Linked DNA regions of Homo sapiens: all the other regions are linked to region 5. Evidence: promoter capture Hi-C in 16 types of primary human blood cells and fetal thymus (Javierre and others, 2016). All regions are on one chromosome and are shown on one strand. The core of a region is centred on a gene start or on the middle of the fragment in contact, and the rest is flanking DNA. Distances in the headings are between cores, read along the strand shown.

Evidence for each region. The method cuts DNA at HindIII sites, captures the fragments that hold promoters and counts their contacts. A CHiCAGO score of 5 or more calls a contact.
Region 1: a fragment that was not itself captured here is called in contact with the fragment with the promoter of WDR49 in region 5 in 1 of 17 cell types (naive B cells); the score reaches 5.5 in naive B cells.
Region 2: a fragment that was not itself captured here is called in contact with the fragment with the promoter of WDR49 in region 5 in 4 of 17 cell types (M2 macrophages, M1 macrophages, monocytes and 1 more); the score reaches 6.6 in M2 macrophages.
Region 3: a fragment that was not itself captured here is called in contact with the fragment with the promoter of WDR49 in region 5 in 6 of 17 cell types (M2 macrophages, monocytes, M1 macrophages and 3 more); the score reaches 17.5 in M2 macrophages.
Region 4: a contact is called between a fragment that was not itself captured here and the fragment with the promoter of WDR49 in region 5, in 1 of 17 cell types (M2 macrophages). The highest score is 6.5, in M2 macrophages.
Region 6: a contact is called between a fragment that was not itself captured here and the fragment with the promoter of WDR49 in region 5, in 1 of 17 cell types (total B cells). The highest score is 6.6, in total B cells.
Region 7: a fragment that was not itself captured here is called in contact with the fragment with the promoter of WDR49 in region 5 in 4 of 17 cell types (M2 macrophages, M1 macrophages, monocytes and 1 more); the score reaches 9.3 in M2 macrophages.

What each region holds. Positions count from the first base shown.
Region 1 is chr3:167,874,177-167,877,947 of GRCh38, reverse strand. No RefSeq gene overlaps it. Among named protein-coding and RNA genes, the nearest start is that of SERPINI1, 140 kb to the right of the region's middle. The HindIII fragment of the contact is 7,563 bases long and covers 1-3,771 here.
Region 2 is chr3:167,454,599-167,458,099 of GRCh38, reverse strand. The region is part of intron 5 of SERPINI2 (serpin family I member 2); the gene reads left to right. Among named protein-coding and RNA genes, the nearest start is that of SERPINI2, 18 kb to the left of the region's middle. The HindIII fragment of the contact is 8,519 bases long and covers 1-3,501 here.
Region 3 is chr3:167,401,654-167,405,433 of GRCh38, reverse strand. All of the region lies in intron 3 of LINC01327 (long intergenic non-protein coding RNA 1327), which reads right to left. It also overlaps a transcript of ZBBX not described here. Among named protein-coding and RNA genes, the nearest start is that of LINC01327, 11 kb to the right of the region's middle. The HindIII fragment of the contact is 2,289 bases long and covers 771-3,059 here.
Region 4 is chr3:167,436,972-167,440,275 of GRCh38, reverse strand. No RefSeq gene overlaps it. Among named protein-coding and RNA genes, the nearest start is that of SERPINI2, 35 kb to the left of the region's middle. The HindIII fragment of the contact is 8,061 bases long and covers 1-3,304 here.
Region 5 is chr3:167,652,072-167,655,466 of GRCh38, reverse strand. WDR49 (WD repeat domain 49) reads left to right here and starts at 1,525. Exons shown (of 19, transcript NM_001366157.1): 1 at 1,525-1,633; 2 at 1,968-2,206. The coding sequence starts at 2,042. RefSeq lists enhancers at 1,265-1,787, 1,788-2,311. The HindIII fragment of the contact is 616 bases long and covers 1,118-1,733 here.
Region 6 is chr3:167,906,613-167,910,385 of GRCh38, reverse strand. It overlaps the pseudogene LRRC77P. Among named protein-coding and RNA genes, the nearest start is that of SERPINI1, 170 kb to the right of the region's middle. The HindIII fragment of the contact is 1,269 bases long and covers 651-1,919 here.
Region 7 is chr3:167,419,104-167,422,834 of GRCh38, reverse strand. No RefSeq gene overlaps it. Among named protein-coding and RNA genes, the nearest start is that of LINC01327, 28 kb to the right of the region's middle. The HindIII fragment of the contact is 3,500 bases long and covers 536-3,731 here.

The DNA of each region.
Region 1 (3,771 bases), core at 481-2,980, 220 kb before region 5:
AGAGACAGGGTTTCCCCATGTTGGCCAGGCTGGTTTCGAACTCCTGACCTCAAATGATCCACCGACCTCGGCCTCCCAAAGTGTTAGGATTACAGGTGTGAGCCACCGTGCCTGGCCAATTGTTGTTAACCATATGAAAAGTTGCCCAACTTCACCCATGAAGGGATAGTTATTGACTCAGGGTGATGGTTACATGGATGTTCATTACCTACTTGCATACGCACATCTGATTGTGTCACTCATCTAGTTGTGAGCTGCAGATGGCTTCTCAAAACCTGTAAGATAAAATTCTAACAACTTAGCACAGCATTTAAGAATTTTTAGTCAGTATTCTGCCAAGCTGGTTAGCCTAATCCCTCACTGTTACCCAACTCCACATTATGCTGTGATCACATCAAAAGTTCTGTTATTCCACAAATTTGTCGTGTATTTTTTTCATACCATGCCTTTGCACCATGCTATTTCCTCTGTCCATGATGTCCTCTCCTTTCTTTTCTGCTTGGGAAAATCCTGTGAGTCTTTGACTCGAATGTCCAACTTTCATGTGAAGCATTTTGCTTGCTCCTTTGAGTTTCCACAACACTTTATTCAGGCTTTGATTAAAGCACTTCTTACGCAGTTGTGTAGCAATCGGCTTTTATGTATGCCTCCACCATGGAGAGAGGTATTTTTCTTGCCCCAATCTCCCTAGCCAATTTCCAGTGCCAAGCAAGCTGCCTGGCCACAAAGAGACATATAATAAATTTGTTGAATACAATAATTTTTATGCAGTTGCCAAAGAGACGTCAGCATTTCCTATACAAATCTTCTTTCAGGAAGATGTCAAGGGGAATGGAGGCTGGAAAGCGGATTCTTACAGATTATGTTTACTTGACAGCCTGAGTTTTGGCTGTTAGTCAGGACTCTTTTGGTTACAGGACAAAAATTCAACTTGAATCAGCTCTGAAATTGGCAATTTATTTGCTTCTAAAACCACACCTTGGAAATGGATTTGGTTTCAGAAGCAGTAATTTTTCTCTCTCTCTCATTCTGACACACACACACACACACACACACACACACACACAAGCACACCTCTGCTTATTGCTGATTGCTGCCTTCATCATCTTAAGCCTATGATCTCCACAAGGCAACAACTGGCAACAGATAACTCTAGGGTCATATGCTTGCAGCATTTGCAACTAATAAGGAACAGAGCTACTTCCTGTCAGCTGTGGTTTAAAAAATTCCATCAAACTACTCCAACTGCCCTGAGTCATGCAAGTATCGCTAGGCTATTTTCCATGGCAAATAAGGTGGAGTATAGGATTGACCTCAGTCTGGTACCATGCCTGTTCTGGGAATGGGATAAAGTGATTGGCAGCTTCCATCAGAACTATATTTTGGAGTGCAAGAGGAGCAGCTTCCGAAGAGAATAAAGACTTCTTCTTGCCTACAGAGGGATAATTCTCCACTATAGATATGAAGAAATGGACAAGATGAAAATGTTGGAAGAAATATTATGTAATTTTTATGATTAAACCTTTCATATTCCTGATATATAAATATTGTAATTCAAACACATTTTAAAAGTTTATCAATCAAAATAAAAAACTGCTCAGGAATCTCATTTGTACTCTTTCATCTTTTGTTTTCTTTCCTCTAATTATTCTTTAAATAAGGATCTACCTAAAGAGTACAATTCTCTAACATGAGCTTTCTAAATTTCATAAATTTTATTCTTCGTCTCTTATATTTATTCTTTTACTGTGCCTATTTCTGCTAAAATCAAAGAATATTCAAAAAGAAAAGAAAAAACTGAAGAGAAAAAGTTTTTCTTATCTATGAATGAGTTACTGCTCAAGGATATTTTGAGAGTGGAAAAAAATGGAGCAAGCATGTCCATGTTCGGTCTTAACCGAATTTTCTAAGGGTACTTGTGAAGTTGTTAAAGGTCTATATCCAGAAACTTGGGCTAGCTGGCAAGTATCACCACCCCACTCTGGGAACAATGTGACTGCAGGTAGAAAGGGTGATTGTAAGGTGTTACCATGCTGGCTTGGTAGCCCCAACAAGCAGCTTTTTCTTGGACTAATATGATCTGCGTACATTTGAGTGCCCATTATGTGCAAAGAATTGTCCTACAAACTGTGGATGGATAAGAGAAATTCCTGATGAGATTAACCCTACATAGAAAGAGAAATATGAAAAACTGTGGGGTAGGATTTTAAAATAACAACTGTTCTTTTGCAAATTAAATACTTTAATGTAAAGACACATTTTACTTAGCCTGTCTGTATTTTCTGCGTTTTTTTTTTACAATAAACATATTTCAAGGTTCATAAAATATAATGAAATAAATAAGTTATTCTAAAATATTAAAGGATACACCTCCTCTGGCATCAAATAAGTTCAAATCCCATTTCTGCCAGTCACCAGTTGTGTGAACTTGGGCAAGTTGTTTAATCTACCCAATAACACTGTGAATATTACAGAAGATAAAATGTAATAAAGTGGTTGATACTGTGCCTGGAATGTAGAAGTTGGATGAAATAGATTATGTTCATCGTTCTTCTTATTAATGTGAAAGACAATCTTAGTTGAAGTCTAGAAAAAAATAAAATCTAGAAACAGGTGGTAACTGACCCAGTTTATTCTTTCCCAATATTTGCTCAAGTATGAATTCTCTAGGCTCTGTCAGCTTTATACTCAACTCACTCAGAAAGCACCTCAGAGTTCACTGTCAGGGGGTGTCCAGGGCTTGGGTTGCTGTTGCCTCATGTTTTATTTCTAGTAGCAGGAGCTGGCTAAAACTTCAGCCCTGTTTCTAATTAGAGCTTTAGAACTAAGTGACATTTGCCATCATGTGAGTCCAACCTTGGGATTACTGTGGTCAGTATGTTTCCCTCTAATTCAATCTCAAGGAGGGAATAAAATGGTAGTTTTTCTTTTACTCCTTGTTTTGGCAACTTTATTTTTCAATTAAAGGTTATTCAAGGTGAAAGTGGTGAATAGTGACAGCTTCTTGTTTGCCTCTCCTTTGTTCTTCCCTCCCACACACCTAATTCTGGATGGGCTTTTGGCAGTTTCTTCCACACAGTGGGGAAGTCAACTGCTGACTCTTCCCAATGTTTACTGACTGCTAAACCAGGCTTTCTTTTGAGAGGAACCTCTTTATTTCTTTCTCATGACCAAAATCTATTTATACAAACAAAATACATCTATTTTTATCCAACTTAAATGTTCTCAGCCAGTTTAGTCAAACTCTTTTGACCTAAGTTTGTTTTTCCCAGGCTCACTATTTGAATAGTTTTAGAGACAGAAGTTATATCCTTGCATATAGCAATGCAGTTGTAGTGGGGCGGGGTGGGGGGAAAACACACAGCACAATTCTCACTAATGGAGCTGTTGGAAAACAGAATTGATGGCTCTCTAAATATGGAAGCTACTACTACTTGTTCTTAATACAGTTCTACAACCGGTTCATTTAATAAGGACTTATTGTGTGCCATACAGGGCACATGAATAATTTATGTATTCCTCTTAACAACCCTATGAGTTGTTATTATTTTCCATCCCATTTTACAGATGAGGAAACTGTGGTTTAGAGTGGTTAACTAATTGGGCCAATTCTACCCAGATAGTGAGTGATTAAGTCTGGGACATGCTAATTAAATTGTTAAGGTTAATAGATTCTATAATTTCCTCATGTCAGGCAGAAATATAACCATTGAATCAAATATTTTCAATGTTTATTCACAAAAGTGTGAATTGAGCTCTAAAACCTATTTG
Region 2 (3,501 bases), core at 394-2,893, 200 kb after region 5:
TTTTAAAAGAGTTGAAGAATAAATCCTATATGCAATGAAGAATTGTTGAATATGTCCAAGTAAGACAATGAAATGATTAAGTCAGTGTTTTAGAAAGATCTATGTAGTAGTCAGAATTGTTCACCCTGGATAACTTGTCTGAAAAATTTCCCTCTTCCTCATTTATCCCCCACCCCTGCCAACGGTTCCTATTTTTCTATAAAACTTCTATTTGTCCTTAAAATTAAGTTTGGGTTTTAGAAAGCCTTTCTGATCTCTCCATGCAATATCATACAAGCATCTTCCCTTCTCCCCATTGGGAAAGTTCTAGTACCTTGTGTTTATTTCTGCATAGCAGTTATATTAAAATGAATTGTTTATCTTCCCCTCTGACCCATAAGCTACTTGAGGTGAAGAGCTAGGCATGTTTCCTCTCTGTGACTGCAGCAAAAAGCATGTATATAAAAAATAGTAGCTATTCAATGAGGATTTGTTGCTTTAAACTGAGTAGTGGTAATAACCTGGATTTGTTAAAGAGGGAAAGACTAAAGCCTAAAAGATCAGTTAAAAAACCACTGCAACAACTCGGACATTAAGTAAAGAGTGTTTAAAGGGAGCAGCCTCACTGGGAATAGTAAGGAACTGGTGAAATTATTGAAATGTGTGACTAACTAGATATGGGTTAAGAAGAAATAGGTTGTTTGGGGGTTCCAGGCTCAACTTACTAGAAAACAAGAGGGCTGTGAATTCTTGCTGTTTTGTAGTAGTCCTTACCTGGGCACCATGGACTTCTAGAGAGGTCTAGGATATACTTCCAAGGGTCCTTGAAGCCCTGAAATTATTTGCAAGTTTATGCATGTAAGGTTATGCATGTATTTTCCTTGGGAGAGGCTTTATAGTTCTCACTGAATTTTTGGAAATCTCGGCCTTTAAACTTGTTAAGCACTACAGTTCTATTCAAAAGTATAGTATTATCTTAATAATAGCCATAGTCTTTGTGAGAGATATCATTCTTTAAAAATATTGACTGATGTGGCACCTCACAGTACCTTTTGTCAATTGTTGAAACCAGATTACTGAAAATAATATTGAAGACCCAGAGCCCTGCCACTTTCTTACTATATAACTTTAAGCAAATTACTTTTCTAAGATTTTTCTTATACTGTTAAATGCAGTAATGATAACACATGCCTCTTAGTGTTGTGAGGATTCCATGAGATAATGTGTATACAATTTTTAGTGCTCAATATTAGCTAAATATTATTTGTATTATTACTCATTTAATTCTAACAGTGGCCATATATTATAATGCCAACATTGTAATAGGTGGCCCCCCATCATATCGCATTAAATTCCTCAATCAATTTGATGAAGGTCTAGTTTTACATTAAGGTTACAGACAAGATGGAGACAGGTAAATACCTTGCCTATGGTCACACAGCTAATTAATGGCTGAGCCAATACTAGAAGAGGTCAGCCAGACGTCTGAAAACAGGTGACTGTAGGGCAAGCAAGAGAGGGAGCACAGAACAGAACAAACAGTCAGTGATAGGGTGAGCAGTAGGATGAGAGATCTGGAGTAGCCGTACCAAGGAGACTTTTCAAAAGATGTAACACTTACCACAGGACATAAATGATCATCTTTTTGCTGGCTAGAAATTAATTCTAGGCTTGGCCAGCCTTGGATCTATAAGTGGGTGAATGTAAATTGTGTGTGGGTGGCAGGAAGGCAAGGAAAATGAGACTGGATATGAGAATAGATACGTTGTGACCAGCTGCAGTAGTGATTACAAAATGTTCGTTTACTTTGACCTATTGGACATGGATAAAAATGGGAATACTAGGCATACATTAAACATTATCCAGATGTTTCATATGTGAAAGTATTTTAAATTCAGCCTGTGACGTTAATAGAGTATTTTAATTATTTTACACACACACACACACACACACACACACACACACACACAGAGGTAATTGATTGGAAAGTGACCAGAATTTACTGTGTACTCACATAACCATCTAGGGCCACCATTGTCAAAGATTGTGTTGTATTTTTCTCCTCATGAGCAACCCTAAGATTTGGTTTGGTTGGTTCCAGCTCTGAACAGTACAAGTGATATGGTTTGGATTTATGTCCCCACCCAAATCTCATGTCAAATTGCAATCCCCAGTGTTGGAGATGGGGCCTGGTGGAAAGTGATGGGATCATGGGGGCAAATTTCCCCCTTCAGTGCTGTGCTCATCGTAGAGTTCTCACGAGATTTGGTTGTTCAAAAGTGTGTAGCCCCTGCCCCCTGTTTCTCTTCCTCCTATTCCAGCCATGTAAGATGTGCCCATTCCTCTTTGCCTTCAGCCATGATTGTAAGTTTCCTGATACCTCCCTGGTAACCAACAAATGCCAGCATCATGCTCCCTGTACAGCCTTTGGAACTGTGAACCAATTAAACTTCTTTTCTTTATAAATTACCCAGTCTCAGGTATTTCTTTTTTCTTTTCTTTTCTTTTCTTTTCTTTTTTTTTTTTTGAGACTCGTATTTCTTTATAGCAGTGTGAGAATAGCCTAATACACCAAGAATGATTCAAGCCCACTGTACCAAAGCTGGGATTTCAGATGATAACACAAACCCAGAGGGAAATTGATCCAAGACTTTTTTTCATTAAACAAGAACTCTGGGGATAAGGGGAAAGGAAGGGCCAATACCATTCCCCAACAGGGCCTGGAGGCCAGAAGTAGGTCATTCTTAAAACAAAAATTGGGATTGTTTTTCATTTTTCTGCAGCTTTTCCCTTTGTGAGATCTGTTTCAGCACAATGGTTACATTTGGGAGTGAATTACTCTCTTTTAAACAAATAGATATTATTTGCATATGCTAAAAATTCCATTCATGATTTAGTTGCTAATTGTTTATCTAGCATTTTGCTGCTCATTCTTCTACTTTTGCCTGCTGTTCTTTTGACAATTTTAGAGGAGGATTAAGGAAAAGGGAAAATGAACCACAACTGGGAGAAATATGAAGACTCATAAACTTTGGAAGAGGGACATTATATATATTGACCAATATGGTGGTGTTGAATTACATTTTGATTAGAAAGTAGTGGCAGTTAGCACATTAGCTTTGACTTCAAATAGACCTGAGTTTAAATCATACCTCTGGAACCTACCTTAACCTTAAGCCTGAAAATTAACCTCCTCAGGCTTCTATTTTCTTATACGTTAATGGAAATAATGCCGACTTCCTTAGATTTTTCTAAAGATTAAAAACTATAATTTATCTTAAGTACCTAACACATGGCAGTGCTTCTTCACACCTGGCTATTCATGGCTCCAATAATTATGGATAATTAGGAATTGGCTGTAGATTATACATTCATTAGATGGCTGAATGTGTTTTTATTGCTGTAGGTTTCATTGGACTATATTATGAGCAGGACTGTTACTTAAATGACTCTCCAGTGATAATTAGGCATTATTAGAAGTTGTAATAAGTCTTGCAGTATTTTTGTCATTATCCTAAAATT
Region 3 (3,780 bases), core at 666-3,165, 250 kb after region 5:
TTCCTATCTCTCTTTGGTTTTTATGACACACTTTTTCTGGTTCCTGTCTCGTTATCTCATCCTTTTCTTCTTTTCTTCATTGCAGTTTCTTCTTCTGCTGTCTGCACTGTTTATGTCAGAGGTCAAGGGTTCTGCATTTGGTCTTCTTTCTATCCTCACTGGAGTATTCCTACCATTTCAGTGACTACAACCACTGCAATTATCTCTAACCTGACCTCTTTCCTGATGTCATACTCACATATTGAATTGCCCTGTAGACATTTTTAACAATGTCTCACAGACATTTCAAAAGTGTCCAAAAGAGAGCTCATTGCCTTTCCTCTCAGATGTGCTTCTTCTTCTTCACAATGTTTTTAATAAAAAGCATCCATGCAGTCTCCTAGCAAGAACCCTTAAAAATTTTAGATGTCTTCCTATTGCCACCTCTCCCTTGTATCAGACATCTAAGTGACCAGTTTCTATTATTTTCAAACACCAAATATATCTCCAGTTTATTAGCTTCATTCTACTCCCCCCGACCAGTTTCTGCATTAATTAAGGCCATCATCTTGTTTCACTAGATTATTGTTATGGCTGCTAATTTGTAAACCTTTTCTCTGTCTCTCCATTCTTCAATATCTTTTTGACAATGCCACCAGAGGGGAAAAAAAGCAAATCTGGTCATATTATTTCCATGTTAAATGATTGTTCTATTAATTATTGACAGAGGAATGCTGAAATTGAAGTCAGTCCAATTTTCCAACAAGCCAGGTGTCTATAGAACTGAAGCTTGAGAAACTTACATTTGTATAATGAAATGCACCTGCTGTCTGTTGACCAACTTCTTTTCCTTGTCCCTTCTGTTGTCCTTCCCAGCTATATAAACCCTTGAATGGGCGTGGAGAAAGGGGGAGAGTGGGAGAGTGAAGAGTGGATTTAGGGTTTGCCTCCCACCTCTCCAGCTGACATCACCCAAATAAAATCTTCTTCTCTGACAATACTCATTGTCTCAGTGATTGGTTTTCTGTGTGGCGAGCAATGGGACCTAGAGCAAACCCCTGGTTATTCGTAATACAATTTCCTACTATAACTATGAATTTGTCTATTTCTACTTGCAGAAATGTTAATGTCTTCTGTAGATTCGCTTATTTTTTTGTTTCTGTAAAGTTTTGCTTTGCTTACTTTTAAGCTCTATTATAAGTAGCATGCACACTTAGAAATATTATGTATTTTTTTAACGAATTCCATTTATCATTATGAAATATCTCTTTATCTTTGGTACTACTTGTTTTGAAGTTTACTTTGTTGGCTATTCATATAGCCGAACCAGGTCTCTTATGATTAGGAGTTTGCTTTCAACCTATCCATGTTGCGTTTAAAATGCAATTTCTGTAGAGGGTGTACAGTATACTGTTAGTATGCTGACTTTTTTCGCCTCTGACAATATTGCTTTTTCTTCAGAATGTGTAGTCATTTTACATTTAATGCAATTATTGATATGATTTACTTGAAGTTTAACATCTTATTTATATTTTTAATTTTTTGTTCTTCTTTTGTTTCCTTGATCTTACTTTCCTGCCTCCTTTTAATCTAGTATTAGTTTAAAGTAGTATTAAGTTAGCATTCTATTTTATATAACCTGTTAGATTTTTATTATACTTCTTCATTTTATTTTTAAGTAGTTGCTTTGCTTTAGGGACTAAAGTATGCACATTTAACCTACCATATTCTATACTGAATTAATATACTCCACCTCACATATCATAGAGGACACTCATCAAATTATAATTCTATTTATTCCCATTTCATGTTTTTTAATGCTCTTAAGCATTTTACTTTTTCATATATTATTAACCTCACAATATAAATGTTTCATTTTAAATAGTGAAGTGTCTTTCAAACAAATTAGGAGAAAAAATGCTTGCATATTCACCTTGTTATTTACCATTTTTGGCATTCTTCAATTATTTTTGCAGATCTGAATTTCCTACTGGTATCATTTCTCTTCAGATTGAAGAAGTTTTGACATTTCTTATAGTGCAGATATGATGGCAACAAATTCTCTCAGCTTTGATTTATTATTTATTCATTTATCTGAAAAAGTATGTATTTTACCTTTAGTTTTGAAGGCGATTTTTGCTGGATGTAGGATTCTAAGTTGATAATCGTTTTTTAGTTGTTTTCTTTTAGCACTTTAAAATGTCAATGCGTTGGGTTAATGAGATTGTTACTCCCTCTTACATGATGCATTCTTTACTGTGGTACCCGTTAGAATTTTTTCTTTCCCTTTGGATTTCAGTTTGACAATTATATGCTTATGTGCATTTTGCATAAATTTACTCCATTGGAGATTCAGCGACCTTCCTGGATTTGTAGATGTATGTATTTTCAAACATATAAGGAAACTTTTCAGTCATTGTTTCTCCAAGATCTTTTGTACTCTGACTTATTCCCTCTCCTATCCTTCTGTTCTTCCAATTACAGGTATATTTGACTGCTTGATTTAACAGTTTGTTATGTCTTTAACAGTTTGTTATGTATTTAACAGTTTGTTTATGCCTTTTTTTCTATGCTTTACTTTGGATAAGTTCTCCTGACCTGTCTTCAAGGTCACTAACCATTTGATTATTTTGTGATTTTTCTGTATAGTTCATCTATTTTTTTTTTTTACATATTGTAGTTTACAGATATATAATTTTTAACTAATTTTTCTTACTTATTTTATTTTATTCTCTGCTGAGATTACCCACCTATCCACCTATTCTCATATTTTCCTATTGAAGATAGATCTTTTAAATTATTTTCTGCTAATTCCAGTATCTGGATCATCTGTGGTTTGCTTTTGGTGATTTTTTTCCCTTGCGCGTGAGTCCTATTTCTGCCTCTACGTAGGTCTCGTAATTTGTTATTGCATAGTAGAAATTAAGTATAGAAGAAAAATAGGGTTAGAGGATTAACACTGGGTTTTTATTTTCTTTTTGCCAAGAAATTTCAAGTTATTTTTTCATCTGTTGGCTAAAGTGGGAGTTGATTGTTCAGATTTCACCAAGGGTTTATTTATCTGGGACTGAGATGAAGCTTCCCTCTTGTTAACCCAATCGCCAACATTCAGTTTTCCAAGGAAGGGCTAGTCTCATGGAGCTTATCAGGATTTTATTTGGGATTCCTTGCAATATCTTTGAATTTTTAAATTTCAGGTATGGGGAGAATATGGGAGATGCAGCAGATTGAATGATTTCTGTCTGCTTATCAGTTCTTACTTCAATTTCATTGTTTTCAGCAAACTTGGGATAAGGTGGAGAGAATGACTGCGTTGAGCAAACTATTACTGTGCTTGGTAGTCTTTCAGACCGTAATGTAGCCCACGATCTCCACTGTTGCCAATAGCTCAGATGGCTTCATTTCCACCCAGTAAAGTCCTGGGTCTTGACCATTCTTCTGCTCGTCCTGCATCCAGACCTGCCAGATCTCACTGCTTACTTATAATGGGCACCTTTCTCTGGAAATCAGTTCATCAAGCCTTTCATGGTTCATTGACAGTCCCATATGGAAATATGATTTTTATTTTATCTTTTGACATTCTCATAATGTCAGAGGTGTGTGAACCAGAGCAACTCCGTCTAGAACAGGAGCTGGGTAAAATGAGGCTGCGACCCATGGGGCTGCATTCCCAGACAGTTAAGGCATTCTAAGTATAGGAGGTTGGCAGAAGATACAGGTCATAAAGACCTTGCTGATAAAACAGTTTACTTCAAAGAAGCCAACTAAAACCAACCAAAACCAAGATGGTGATGAGTGACC
Region 4 (3,304 bases), core at 411-2,910, 220 kb after region 5:
AAAGAACAATACATGGTTGAAGAAATGACAAAGGAAAAGGACCTTGGATTTATAAGGGCAGTAAATTGTAGGAAGGCAAATATATGGTAGATAAAGGCTATTTTGTAAAATTTGTTATGTAGATTCCTGTGGTGATATCTCCAGGATGATAAGGGTCTTAAGTCATCTTCAGTGATCAAATTCTGTCCTACTTGGTAGAGAGAGGAGGAGGGATAACTTTGTGAATTTGTATTCTGTTTTTAGGCAAATTGTTTAGGCAAGGCAAATAACTTTTCCTGTATCTACTTCTTCTCAGTTGCCTTTAGCTCAAAATAACCCTTATGCTAAAGTGGCATCTTTTGGGGTGGCATATTCTGCTGCCCTCCACCTTCTATTTTAATTTTCAAAATCTAGGTATCCATCTACAGCAAAACCTACAGCAATACTCAAGACATTATGAAGCCAACTTTAGAATGAATTGTGATTGCTTAAAAATCATAACATAATTGAAAGCAATGTTCATTACTCTACTTTCAATTTGAGCATACTTAGATATAACACAGTAAATACTAATCTATATGTTAGTAATATGCATTTGTGGCATAAATTCCTCACAACATATCTGTTTTAAAAATATAAGTCTTTGTTTCAGGAAGGAGAGAATAATGAGTTAAGAGGATAGTAGTTTTATTCAGCTGTGGTCCAGATTCCTGTTTCTCTTGGGTTGGCTGAATTCTTCTGATCCTCTTTCATGCATTAAATGTCATGCTCTGGGGATTCATTCATTCATTCTACAAATTTTAATTGAGCTTCCACTATGTTCCAGGTAGTTTTCTAAGCACAAGGGATGTATTAGTGAGCAAATCTGACAAGGTCCTTGTCTTCCTGGAGCTGACATTTTACTGGTAGCAGTAAACCAGTGAACAAATACAAAAACAAGGTAATTTCAAATGGTAATAACTGATGACATTAATAAAGCAGAAGAAGAAAATAAGAGGGGTTCAATAATTGAGATGATGTAATAAGATCACTACCCAAGTTTCACTTTAAGTACATATTCTTACAGTGTGTTCCTAATGTATTTGTTTTCCTTAATAAGATTTGCTAAAAGTCTGCCACGAGTTCCCGACTGAGGATCCTGAAAGCATTATACAGAAGTTGGGTAATTTATTTTTCTGATTTCATGTTCTTCTTCCATTTGGCTTAAAAATGGGAGTGTCTTCCATAAGCTCATTGTGTGGATTCAAGATAAAAACCCCATTTTCTACCATGTTCTGGAAATACATTTGCCGAACTACTTCCAAAATTAAAACATTTAATTTTTTCCTTCAGTTGTAAGTAACTCAGTAGTTATTACAAGTTTGCATCATAAAGGTTACAAGTATATGGAATACATTTACAAAACATACATCTATTTATGAAGGAAAATAAGTATGAAATAATTTTCTTTGCTAAACTGTATGAAATCTGTAGGATTCACAACAGTCCATAATCAATATGGGATAAAATTACTGTCAATACCCCTTGTAAAAGTCCAGTACATCATATATAGGAAATATTTGTATTCCTCATGGAGGCAAAATAATTATTAAAATAGTAGTATTTCTTTTGGAAACTTTGGGTTTTATTGACTTCACATAGCTATAATTCATGGCGTATTCTAGAGGAGTTGTTACCAGACTGAACTTGGGTCTGCCTGCCTGGCACAGCAAGGCCAAACAATGACATTGGGATTTGCAAGAAGAAAAAGTGAGGCATTTATCGCAGGGTGGCAAGCAAGGAAAATCAGGCAGCTCATGCTTAAGATCTGAAATACCCAGTGGCTTAACTGTAAGAGTTTTTAAAGGCAGGGAGGCAGAGGTTACAGGCAAAGCTATAAATCAGTACATGGAGGCTATACGTTGGTTTGGCCTAAAAAGGTGGGACATCTCAAATCAGGTGAGTGGGGAGGGTGGCATGGCCCACAGATCACAGGTGGATGCAAATATTTTCTGATTTGTGATTGGTTTGGCTTTGTCTAAAAGTGTGGGTCAGCTGAAAGGAGAGTTGAGCTCTGGCCTGTGAGCATAATTTCCTTCAGGACCCTCAGGAAGAAATTTAGAACAAAGAATGACAGAATTTAGTCCTCTGTTCCACCCTATCTGAGATCTATGTGCCAGCAGATGGCTTTTCCATGTGGTGAGGGGTCCAGGTCTCTGAAAAACAACTCAGGGACATATGTGAAGACTTTACCTTTAATTTCTATAGAGAAGCAAACTCTGTGGCTCTAGCTTCCTTGGCTATTGTTTTCAGCTATTACAGCATTCTTGCTTATCAGGTTGCTCATTTACTTCTCAGGGCTAGGTTGGTGCCTGGAATTTCCCTGGAAGGAACTCAAAATTTTCCTTTATTTCCATGCCTTGGGGGTGGCAGGCCCGTAGGAGGGATCCCTGCTTCATCTCAGAGTCTGCCACATCACGCAGTACAACTGAAAAGCCAAAGACCTGAGAAAAGGAATAATTTCTTTCTTTGGAGAGGCTTATAAAATCTCCTGAATTGGGTAATGATGACATGGAAACCTTCAAAGGTACAGAGAAAACTTTAGGCAGGTTTCATTAAAAGTCTGTGCCTTGGACCTCTGGAAATAAGATACTTCCTCATTTTGTAGCCTTATACCATTGAAGCATACTCTATGAAGGACCAACCCCCTGAGCCATGGATTGGCCTGAGTCTGATTACAAGCATATGGTAGAAGTGTGGACCTACTTAATTTGTTTGCTTGCAAGAGCACTTAATTTTGTGATTCCTTCCTCCCCTTATTGTCATGGTTCCTCATATGATAATCTCTAAATCTGAAGCCTAAAATTCTAAATGTCAATAATCTAGTTTCTTTCTCCTTTTGATTCCTCAAGTGACCACCCTGATGATGTAAAGGAATTAAAAGATGACATATTTTTCACTGTCCAACATTATAATTTTTGGCTTGTCACATCAATTCTCTGGAGCTTCAATGCCCTCACCTATAAAATGAAGGATTGGTTGGACTAATCCTATTTCAAGTCTTTATTCCAAAGTTCTATCTTGGCAAACCTTGGGCTTCTCCTCAAAGACACATCTTTGAAATAATGTCTTTTGAGTTTTTATTGTCTATAAGCAGTTATTTTACAAAAAACAAAAGTACATTCTTTCACTCGTGTCTGTGTGAAGAGACCACTAAACAGGATTTGTGTGAGCAATAAAGCTGTTTATTTCACCTGGGTGCAGGTGGGCTGAGTCCGAAAAGAGAGTCAGTGAAGGTAGATAGGGGTGGGGCCGTTTTATAGGATTTGGGTAGGTAAAGGAAAAG
Region 5 (3,395 bases), core at 276-2,775:
AACACCAGCTCAGAGAATGTTAGAGCCGGAAGAGACCCTAGAGAAGATGTAATGCCAACTTTTTAGTTTACAGAAGTGAAAATAAAGTGCAACGGGCACATCCATCTAAAGTGCAGTGATACAGTTGGGCAGTGTCCCCACCCAAATCTCACCTTGAATTGTAATAATCCTCACATGACAAGGGCGTGGCCAGGTGGAGATAATTGACTCAAGGGGGCGGTTTCCCCATACTGTTCTCCTGGTAGTGAATAAGTCTCATGAGATCTGATGGTTTTATAAATGGGAGTTACCCTGCACATGCTGTCTTGCCTACTGCCATGTAAGTCATGACTTTGCCCTCATTAGCTTTCTGTCATGATTTTGAGGCCTCCCCAGCCATGTGAAATTATGAGTCAATTAAACCTCTTTCCTTTATAAATTACCCAGTCTCAGGTATGTCTTCATTAGCAGTGTGAAAACAGACTAATACATGCAGTATCTGAAGTTTGGGAGCCATTCTGTTCTCTTCCGTATGTTACTATTTGTGTGACCTTTGGCATTTTCTTTGCTTTTTTTTTTTTTCTTTTTTGAGACAGGGTCTCATTCTGTTGCCCAGGCTGGAGTGCAGTGGCACAATCTTGGCTCACTGCAACCTCTGCCCCCCAGGTTCAAGGGATCCTTCTAACTCAGCCTCCCGAGTAGCTGGGATCACAGGTGTGCGCCACCATGCTCGGCTGATTATTTTTGTATTTTTACTAGATACAATGTCTCGTCATGTTGCCCAGGCTGCTCTCGAACTCCTGAGCTGAAGCCATCCACCTGCCTCAGCCTCCCAAAGTGCAGGGATTACAGGCGTGAGCCACCTTGCCCGGCTTTTTGCTTCTTTATCAGTAAAATGGGGATAATGATCACATCTGCCTTGTAGGATTGTTGTGAAGCTTAAACAAGACAATGAACATAAAGTTTTAGTGCCTGGCACATGGTTAATACTCAAAAAATGTTAATTTTTCTTCTTTTTCTCCTCCTTTTCATTATTATTAGCTGAACCAGTAATGACACTGCAAGCAATTTTATCATTAGATTTATCATATTATGTTATGCTGTGTTTTTTTATCACATTTTCAACAAGTTGGAAGCTTTTTTGAACCATCTCTATTTTATATACATAGAAACTAAGACAAAAAGAATATAAGAAACAGATTCCTTTTATATAAAAATAAAACATTTTCTGTGTATAAAACATAAAATTCCAGAATTTCATGCTTTTCTCTTTGACTAATCATATAGTTTCATAATATATATCCTATATAATGGTAAAAGTTGTCTTTAAATAATACAAGATGTCGTTTAATAAAAAATGAGTGGAATGAACTGTCCTTTTATTTCAAAAAAAACCATTTCAACATTTACATTATATATTTAAACTTTCAGTTGGAGAGGGGGAAGTGAAAGGGAAAGTTTTAGTTGGCTTTGTGTTGGTTGCCAGGAAACATACAAAAGGATCAGAACAGATGAAACAAACAACTCCACATTGCTGGGAAGGTGGCATTCAGAGTCAAGTACTTCATTGGTAGGGAAACTCTGCAGCTTTGTCATCTAACTCTTCCAGACAAGAAAGTGGAATTGAAAACTACAACATGTTAATGGAAGCAAGGTTAGTTAAAGAGATTTTTGGGAAGGTGCTTTTCTAATGCATTTAAAATGAGGATTGGAAGTTGTTTTCTGTGTCAGTTACTATAAATGTGGGGAAAGCTTTACACATTTTTAATCAAGCCAGGTTAAACAGAGTATAAGGAAGGGGTAAAAATACCATTTTAAAAGCATTCAACTGTAAATTTTGAAAATAAACTCTAGAATCAAATAAGTGAGAGGGTTGAGGGCTTTCATTTCCTACCTCAGCTTGAACATTTTGCCTCCTGATCGTATGCCTTGAAAGGTTTGTACTTTCATTTTGGAATTCTGTTGCTAAGTTGAGTTTCTTTTCAAAGGCACCTGTTGAAGGAAAAAGAAGATCCATCCTTATAGAAATAGTTGAAGGCAACTGAGAAAAGGTGAAGCCATTATGAGTTGCCAGAAAGCTGTACTTGAGTTAAACATAGGGTCACAGCTTGGGCCAAAGAGTCCTGAGAGAACAGAAGGTGTAACTGCATTTGAAGACTATGGCACAGGCCTGCTTGAAAACCAACTCAGCGTGGGTGACTTTGTAAAAATACAGAAGGCCTTTGAGGTAAGTGTGAAGCTTATTGACCAGATAGTTTGAGTTGTTCATGAAGGAGCCTAGAATGAAACACAGAGATATTTTTCTTTAAGCATTAAAAAAATACACTTAATTGTTATAGCAGAGAATTAAAAATAATTGGTTAGGCCTGGATTTAACACAATGTGCTTGGTAGCTTTGCCCCTCAGTTCTTTGGGCCAAATAATATTCTTTAGTTTGAAATTGCTTCACTGAATTTCATTACTATCAAGAAAGAACTATTTATTGTTGGAAAAAATTTTTTTCTTAGAGATCAACATATTTTGGGGAAACAAAAAATTATGGCTGTGAGTGAAGAAAGCCAGATCTCTAAGGTGACCTCCAGGAATAATTGTTCTTGCATTTAATACGGACATAGAACTCAGCAAATGCAAATATGCATACCCAGTTTGCAAAAAATTTCCTCCTGTCTCACTCACCCTAAGTGGCACAGCTCCTTTTCTAAGCTGATTCTGGCACTTTGTTGTCCCAAGATCCCTTATGAGGGACGAGTCTCCCACTCATTTTGTAAATCCTGGAACAATGCCAATAAAAACAAAATTAGAATTTTTCATTTTAACTCTGCATAAAAAATAAACCATAGGAATTTAACTGTAAATGAATAATTTTCTTCTCTCTTAGTCAATGAATTTTGAATTCTGCAGCTATGCATAATGAACAGCATACATCAAAGTGGTTTTTAGTTTCAAATATGGGTAGAAAGAAGTGCTCTTCCATGACGTAGAATTTAGGTAGTCATGAGCCTCCAACATTTCTACTATATTATGTTTACTAAAGTATGATCTAGGGCCTTCTTAAGATTGTCCGTGGGTGCTTGGAGTATCCATACTAATTTGAAATAGAAAATATTTTGGAATACCACCTGGAAATTAATAAAATATAATAAAAGCTCACAATATATTAGCCTGTAATAGGCACACATTTTTATCTTTGGATATCCACAAAAGAATATAACAAGTTGGGTTCCACCTGTATTGATAAATTAATGTCCCAATAGTATCAATCATTTCTTTATAATAGAACTTATCATATTTAGTAGCAAGACATGCTCTGTCCTACACTTTTCTCATTTCAACCTTCATATATTTGCTATTCAACCAACCTCATTTGTCTGAAAGATTTCACTGCTGCTGCTCATGCCCAGTGCCCCAAGTAAATT
Region 6 (3,773 bases), core at 36-2,535, 260 kb before region 5:
GTCACATCTGGTATCATTTGCATGCACTTTCTCCACTCTGTGTTTCTGGAATGCGTGACTCCCCTCATTTCAAAGGTAAAAGAATAAAGGAAAAAGGACACTGAGGACATCAAAAGACAAACTTTGCTTTTGTGGCCTGTGGGCTTTTGTGGACTATGATAGAAAGTAGTAAGTTCATTTGTGAAGAGTTTATGGAAGGCAATAAGAGGGAGTCCAGTATTTTATTATTTCGGCACGAACATCAGTTCTTACACCGGGGGCAGGTGGAGGCCAGGGTGTAGACTTCCCTTTCAGTCATTTCTCTCATAATGAACTCTGCTGTTATCACCCAGGAAATCCTTTGACCCAGAATGAGGCAGTATCTCAACCGACTTACAAATAAAATATCCTTATGTTACGAAATGTTCTTCTTCATTGATAAGGATGCTTGGATTTAAAAATCATAGAAGTGGAAAACTGGAGCAATCACCTAATTGAGCAGGGAGACCCTCAGGCTGTATTGTCTTTCACCCACCCCCACTTCAAATTTGGCAGCTTTCTCTGTACATCAGATAACCCAGAGTTATTAAACTCTTCCCTGTATTGTTTGTTTGAGTGTTATTGATCTTCTGCTCTTTTAATTATTTCTTTTTAAAGTAGCTTTCAAAGCTTTCTTTGAAGTTGGGGGCCGAAGTTCACTTCCACTGTGAGGAGTTGAATTAAATTGGATTTTTCTTTTTTTTCTCAGACTTGGTTGGTAATTGAAGATATATCTTAGCAGCTGAACTACAGTCTGGAATATCTGACAGTTCAGGGATGTTGACTTTCACTTGCTCCCTCTCAGCCTGTTCTTTGTCCCCTCACTGGATTTGTAACACATAATAGCAGTCACTGAACTAACTTCCCGGGATATTTTTGAATGGAAAGAATCTATTCTTTAAAAGAATTCTGCCACCAGTTTACTTTTTTGCTTTATTTAATTGTGAAAATTTAAGTCAGTCTTGATCTGGCAATTGAAGCCTTAGGCAATTGCTGTTTATCACACACCAGATAACCTTTCCTGTCTTATGAGCTCTTTCTGAATGTACAATTGAGGCAATTGAGATAAACCGAAGTAGCTTTGATGGGTGTTTCCAGATCTAATCTAGAAGGAGGGTAATTCTTCTCAAAGTGCTTTTGAAAAGCATTTGTTCTCCACGTCACAAAACAAACTTAAACAAAATTAAGAGCAATGAAGGAGGGACATCTATTTCTCCCTGGTTTGAGGAGATGGGATTTTTTCAAATGTTTTCCATCCCCTAGATCACGCTCTGGTCCTTTTATGACTAGTCACTTACAAGAGATTGGGTGTTGTTAATGACCTACAGAAGGAAAATGTGCTTTTATCTCTGCAGAGCAATGATGTCCTCTGCATGAATGGCCACCATGGTCATTACATTGGATTGGTTTTGCTGAGTGATGACCTCAGCACATAACCTGGCCACTTAAGTCAGGGAGAGAAGGAGAACTTTGGACATTCTCTGCACAAGCTCATTTTCAGTTTACCCTCACATTTTATTTCCTTGTCATCTCTAGTTTCTGTAGTTCTCTCTAAACCCTGACCCAGCACTTGTGCTCAGAATACGATTTCTTTTTGCCTTATGATGGCTGCCACAATTATCAACCATCTGCCTCTGCACTCACACACTCATGCCAGCATTTTTACTTATCAGTCTATTCACTTCCTATTCAAATTTCTTTCTTCTCTCCCTTTCTTCATACCTCTTAAACCAGTGTTTCTCATAGTATGGCCTTCAAATCATCTACAACAGAATTCCCTGTGATAATTTTTTACAAATCTGGATTCTGGGCGCCATCCCTTACATCAGATTCAGTGGGCGTAGGGCCCAGGAATCTGACTTTTCACACACCTCAAGATGATTTGTTCACACACTAAAGCTTAAGGACTAAAATCCTTCCTGCTTTAGCCTGTGACGTAGCTCTCTCTTCCTTTTGCTGGAGGACTCCTGACACATGTGACACACTCAGCCACCACTTCTCTTGGTGTCCTTCCTTCCTAATTCTTCACAATTTCTCACTCTTGGGAAAAAAAAAAAAATCTTCCCAAGGTCCCGAAAGGACAACTCTGATTTATCCCTAGTAGTACTATCTACTCACATTTTAAAAATAGGAGTCAGTGCTTGGCTGCAAATAGAGCTGACAAAGTTGAAGCATAAGAACATATTTTACTCAAAGTATAAGAAAATTACGCTATTTTAGTTCCCCTTCTTTTGCCAACTGAGTTTGAGTGAAAGAAGACAAGCATCATGTGGGGATCCACTGAGAGGGAAAATGAGCAGATGAATAGACCTAAAGCCACTTTTCCTAAATCAACAGTAAAATTGTGCAATATACAATATTACTGCAAATCTGCTAATATAGATGGAAGATAGCGAAGATTTGATGTTTCCTGGAGACTAAACACTCACTGAAGCAGGAATTATGTCTAATATTATTTCATTGGCTTTTGTGGATGCAAAAAAAGACATGAGAAATGCATGGCCTCTGTTCTTACAGAATTTATAATCTATTGAAAGTTGCTTATTGAAATCAAACATTATGTATATCAAGGACTGCAGATGGCGGTTATTCAGATTGTTATACTATTACCCTTGTAAAACCTGATAGAATAAAATAATAATAGCAAAACATAGTTATTCCAGCAAATTTAAAGTGCTGTGTGAAAATGTTAAATGAGACTACCTGGTTTATTTAGTGTGATGGTTAATTTTAGATATCAACTTGACTGAATTAAGGGATACCCAGACAACAGGTGAAACATTACTCCTGGATATGTCTGTGTATTAGTCAGGGTTCTCCTGAGAAACAGAACCAATATGAGATAGATAGATAGATAGATAGATAGATAGATAGATAGATAGATAGATAGATAAAAGGGGGGTCATTATGGGAATTGGCTCACATAATGATAGAGGCTGAGATGTCCCACCATATGCTATCTGCAAGCTGGAGAACCCATGAAGCCAGTGGTGTAACTCAGTCTGAGTCTGAAGGTCTAAGAACCGGGAGAGCTGATGGTGTCACTCAGTCTGAGGATGAAGACCTGAGAACACCTGAGAATCTGGCGGCCTGCTGATATAAGTCCTAGAGTCCAAAAGCCAGAGATCTTCGAATTCTTATGTCCAAGGGCAGGAGAAGATTAGTGTCCCACCTCCAAAAGAGAAAGCAAATTCATTGTTTCTCTGCATTTTTGTTCCCCCTAGGTCCTCAACCACTTAGATAGTGCCCACCCACACTGGGTGAGGCAGATCTTCCTTACTCAATCCACTGATTCAAATGCCAATCTCTTCCAGAAATGCCCTTACAGACTTTCCCAGAAATAATGCTTTACCAGTTTATCTAGTTATTCTTAAATGCAATCAATTTAACACCTAAAATTATCCATCACAGCCTGTGAGGGCATTTCTGGAAGAGATGAGCATTTGAATCAGCAGGCTGAGCAATGATTTGCCCTCACCAATGTGGGCAGGCATCATGCAACCCATTGAGGCCCCTGATAACCCTGATGGAGTGACACTATCATCTCTCCTGATTTTCAGATCTTCAGACACAGACCAAATTTTACCACTGGCCTCCCTGTTTCTCCAGCTTACAGACGGCATATTGTAGGACTTCTCAGTCTCTATAATCATGTGATTCCTATAATAAGTCTCATCTCTCTATCTATCTATCATCTATCTCTTTAGATATATATATATCTCTCTCGATGTATAGATTTATATATATAGAGAGAT
Region 7 (3,731 bases), core at 1,036-3,535, 230 kb after region 5:
TCCATGTGAAGAGACCACCAAACAGGCTTTGTGTGAGCAATAAAGCTTTTTAATCTCCTGGGTGCAGGCAGGCTAAGTCCGAAAACAGAGTCAGCAAAGGGAGATATGGGTGGGGCCGTTTTGTAAGATTTGTGTAGGTAGTGGAAAATTACAGTCAAAGGGGGTTATTCTCTGGCTGGCAGGGGTGGGGATCACAAGGTGCTCAGCGGGGGAGCTTTTGAGCCAGGATGAGCCAGGAGAAGGAATTTCACAAGGTAATGTCATCAGTTAAGGTAGGGAACCAGCCATTTTCACTTCTTTTGTGGTGGAATGTTATCAGTTAAGGCAGGAACTGGCCATTTTCACTCCTTTTGTGATCTTCACTTGCTTCAGGCCATCTGGACATATGTACATGCAGGTCACAGGGGATACGATGGCTTAGCTTGGGCTCAGAGGCCTGACATGTATGTGTATATGTATACGCACACACACACACACACATATATATGTATATACAATTTTACTTTTGTGTCAGAGATCTATATCTAGTAAAGCTTTTTGGCTGCCGTTTTGCAATGTAGAGCTGTTGCTGGGCAGTGGTGGGCTCACCAGGAAATTATATTCATCTACACTTGCCTTTACGCAAGTGGAACTTTATAATTGGTTCTCATCAATGGAATGTAGTAGAGATGAATGTATCACTTGTGAGCCCAAATGATTAAGAAACAAGTGTGCCTCCCTAATTGTTCCCTTCTCTGGTACCAGCTTGATGCCAGTGCTCAAGGTGACCCTGTAAGCCATAGTTAGAAGATGACAGAATTTTACTAGTTTTGTGTGTCACAAAGCCCCTATGCAGCTTTGGCTAAAACGAATCAGTCATACCTGCATTGGACTTTAATCTGAGAAAGTTATATTTTCATTGCTATTTTGGGGGCTGTTTTGGTGACAGTAGTGGATGGTAATTTGGTATTTTCAATAGGGGCTTCTATACACAATGCAAAATATGTGGCATAATTTGAAGTTGGAGAGCCATAACAAGAACAAAAACAAAGAAATAGCAGGTTAGAAGGCAGGAAATCTTATTTAGTTGTGGAGCTATCTGGTAAAATTTTTGCCTGTGATAATTTGGAAACACACCATGTGAATACTGACCCAGTATCCAGCCAGAGACTGCATTTCCCATCTCCCTTGAACCTGGTGGACTGCTTGACCAGTTCTCACCAATGAAGTATAAACAGAAATGATATTTGTTACTTCTGGTTATAGTAGTTAGGAAGAGAATTTGCCTACTCTTCTTTTTCTTTTGTCCATTCCATTAGCTGGATTTCAGCATTTTAAGGGTGATCATGGAAGCCCTGTATGGAAGATGGCAGAGGCTGCACTAGCCATGGTCCCTGAATGTTTGCATGGATGACATCCATTCTATCCCCTGTGTCAGCACCACTGACCAAGGATTCCAGCAACAAATACACCTTATGGTGTTAGGCTATAGGAACTAGATAGCTAGTATTCATATAAGTAATACAATTATATTCTTTATACATGTTTTAAATATATTAGCATGTAGTGTATGTTATCCTAGTTCTGGACATGGTAAAACAAAGTTCTGGAATACTTATTAAATTTGCCTAATTCTGTGAAAGAAGATCATGAATGATATTTCAGTGTATTTGCCTATGAAAATCACTCAGATCCATAATAATAATGTATCTGCATCAAAGAGAAGAAAGAACAGAACATAGAAAGCCCCACTAATGGGATGCTTTGCTGTCTACCCCCATACAGGTCTCTTGGTTGAAATTCTTTCCATAAGAAAAAGGCAACATTTACCTTCTCATTTCTGTCTCTCTCTCTGTCTGTCTCTCTCTCTCTCTGTGTGTGTGTGTGTGTGTGTGTGTGTGTGTGGTGGAAATGAAGTGGCATCTTTTAAAAATATTTATCTTGAACAAATTTTTGACTAATATAAAAAATTTTGCGAGGAATGAAGACATTGCTTTGCCAATGATATTTAAAATCATGTGCTTAGTGCTCCACAGAAAACTACAGAAGAAAAGCTGATCTGAGCAAGTTCTCAACTGGCATCTGTGGAGACCAAAACAGATTTTCTGTTAGATTATATTCACATATTAGATTTGAATCATTTGATGTGCATTGGTTATTACAGAGCAAATTTTCTGTAATAAGCTAACTTTTTAGCAATTAACAATAGCTAATATTTAGAGAGACTTACCATTTCTGAGTAATATATACAGTGTCTTACATAAACCTCACCTCTCTGTCACCCTTTATAAAATGAGGAGATTGATTTTCCACAAAGCTAAGGAACTTTGCTTCAGGACAAATGGCAGAATTGGTCGTTGAACTCTGGTTCTGTGTCTCAAGATCTCATCTCCAATCACTAAGCCAGTAATTCTCACCCTTTGCTGTGTATCAGAGTCACTTGGAGGGCTTGCAACATGGCAAAACCCTGTCTCTACTAAAAAATACAAAATTTAGCCAGGCATGGTGGTGGGCACCTGTAATCCCAGCTACTCGGGAGGCTGAGGCAGGGAGAATTGCTTGAATCCGGGAGGCGGAGGTTGCAGAGACTGGAGATGGCACCACTGCACTCCAGCCTGGGCCACAGAACAAGACTCCATCAAAAAAAAAAAAAAAAAAAAAACCCACAGATTGCTATTCCCCAATCCCCACATTTCTCATTTGGCATGTCTGGGATGTGTCCTAAGAATCTGCATTTCTAAAAAGTTTCTAGGAGATGCTTGTGCTACTGGTTTGGGAACCACACTTTGAGAACAACTGAAATGAGGTATATTGCGTCTCTCATCTTATCATATACATATACATATATACATATATGTATATATGTATATATATTTTTTTGCTATACTCAAAATGATCTAATAATCAGTGATAGAAAAAAAGCCACCAGAGTACAAAATTTAATGAAAACAAATTTAATTAGAAAAGATTGCATTAAAAATCTATATGAGGCCAGGCATGGTTGCTCACGCCTGTAATCCCAGCATTTTGGGAGGCCTAGGCGAGAGGATTGCTTGAGTCGGGGAATTTGAAACCATCCTGTACAACATAGTGAGACCTCGTCTCTACCAGAAAAACCCCCAAAATTATGCAGGTGTGGTGTTTCACATGTATAGTCCCAGCTGTTTGGGAATCTGAGGTGAGAGGATTGCTTGATCCTGGTAAGTTGAGGCTGCAATGAGCCGTGTTTGTACCACTGCACTCTAGTCTGAGCAATAGAGTGACATCATGTCTCAAAAAAAAATCCATATGAAAGAATGTAAATAAATGATAAAGATGATGATTACTTATTGTATGAAGAATAAAAGCAAGACTCTTTAGCCAATATTCAAAGCCTTCTATAATTTTATCCCACATTTCTAGACCTCATCTTCACTCATCTGTGCTTGGTATACAACACACCCCCAATCTCCCACGTTGGATGACTGTTTAAGCTGCTTCCTCTGCCTTGGGATGCTTTTCTTTCCCGTTCTGCAAAATTTGTCTGAAAAAACTCTAATTTGGGTTCAAGACCTAACTTAAATGTTTCCTTTCCAAATAAGTCATCCAAGGTGTTGTCAACTTTACTTCTTCTAACACTTCCCTCTATTTCATAATAGTTATTTTTTGAGCTGCTCATACCACAATGAGACAAGAATGAATAATATCTTCTTTTTAACTGCATCATAAGGGGATCTTATCGTCTTTACATTTCCCATAAGATCTAGGACTCT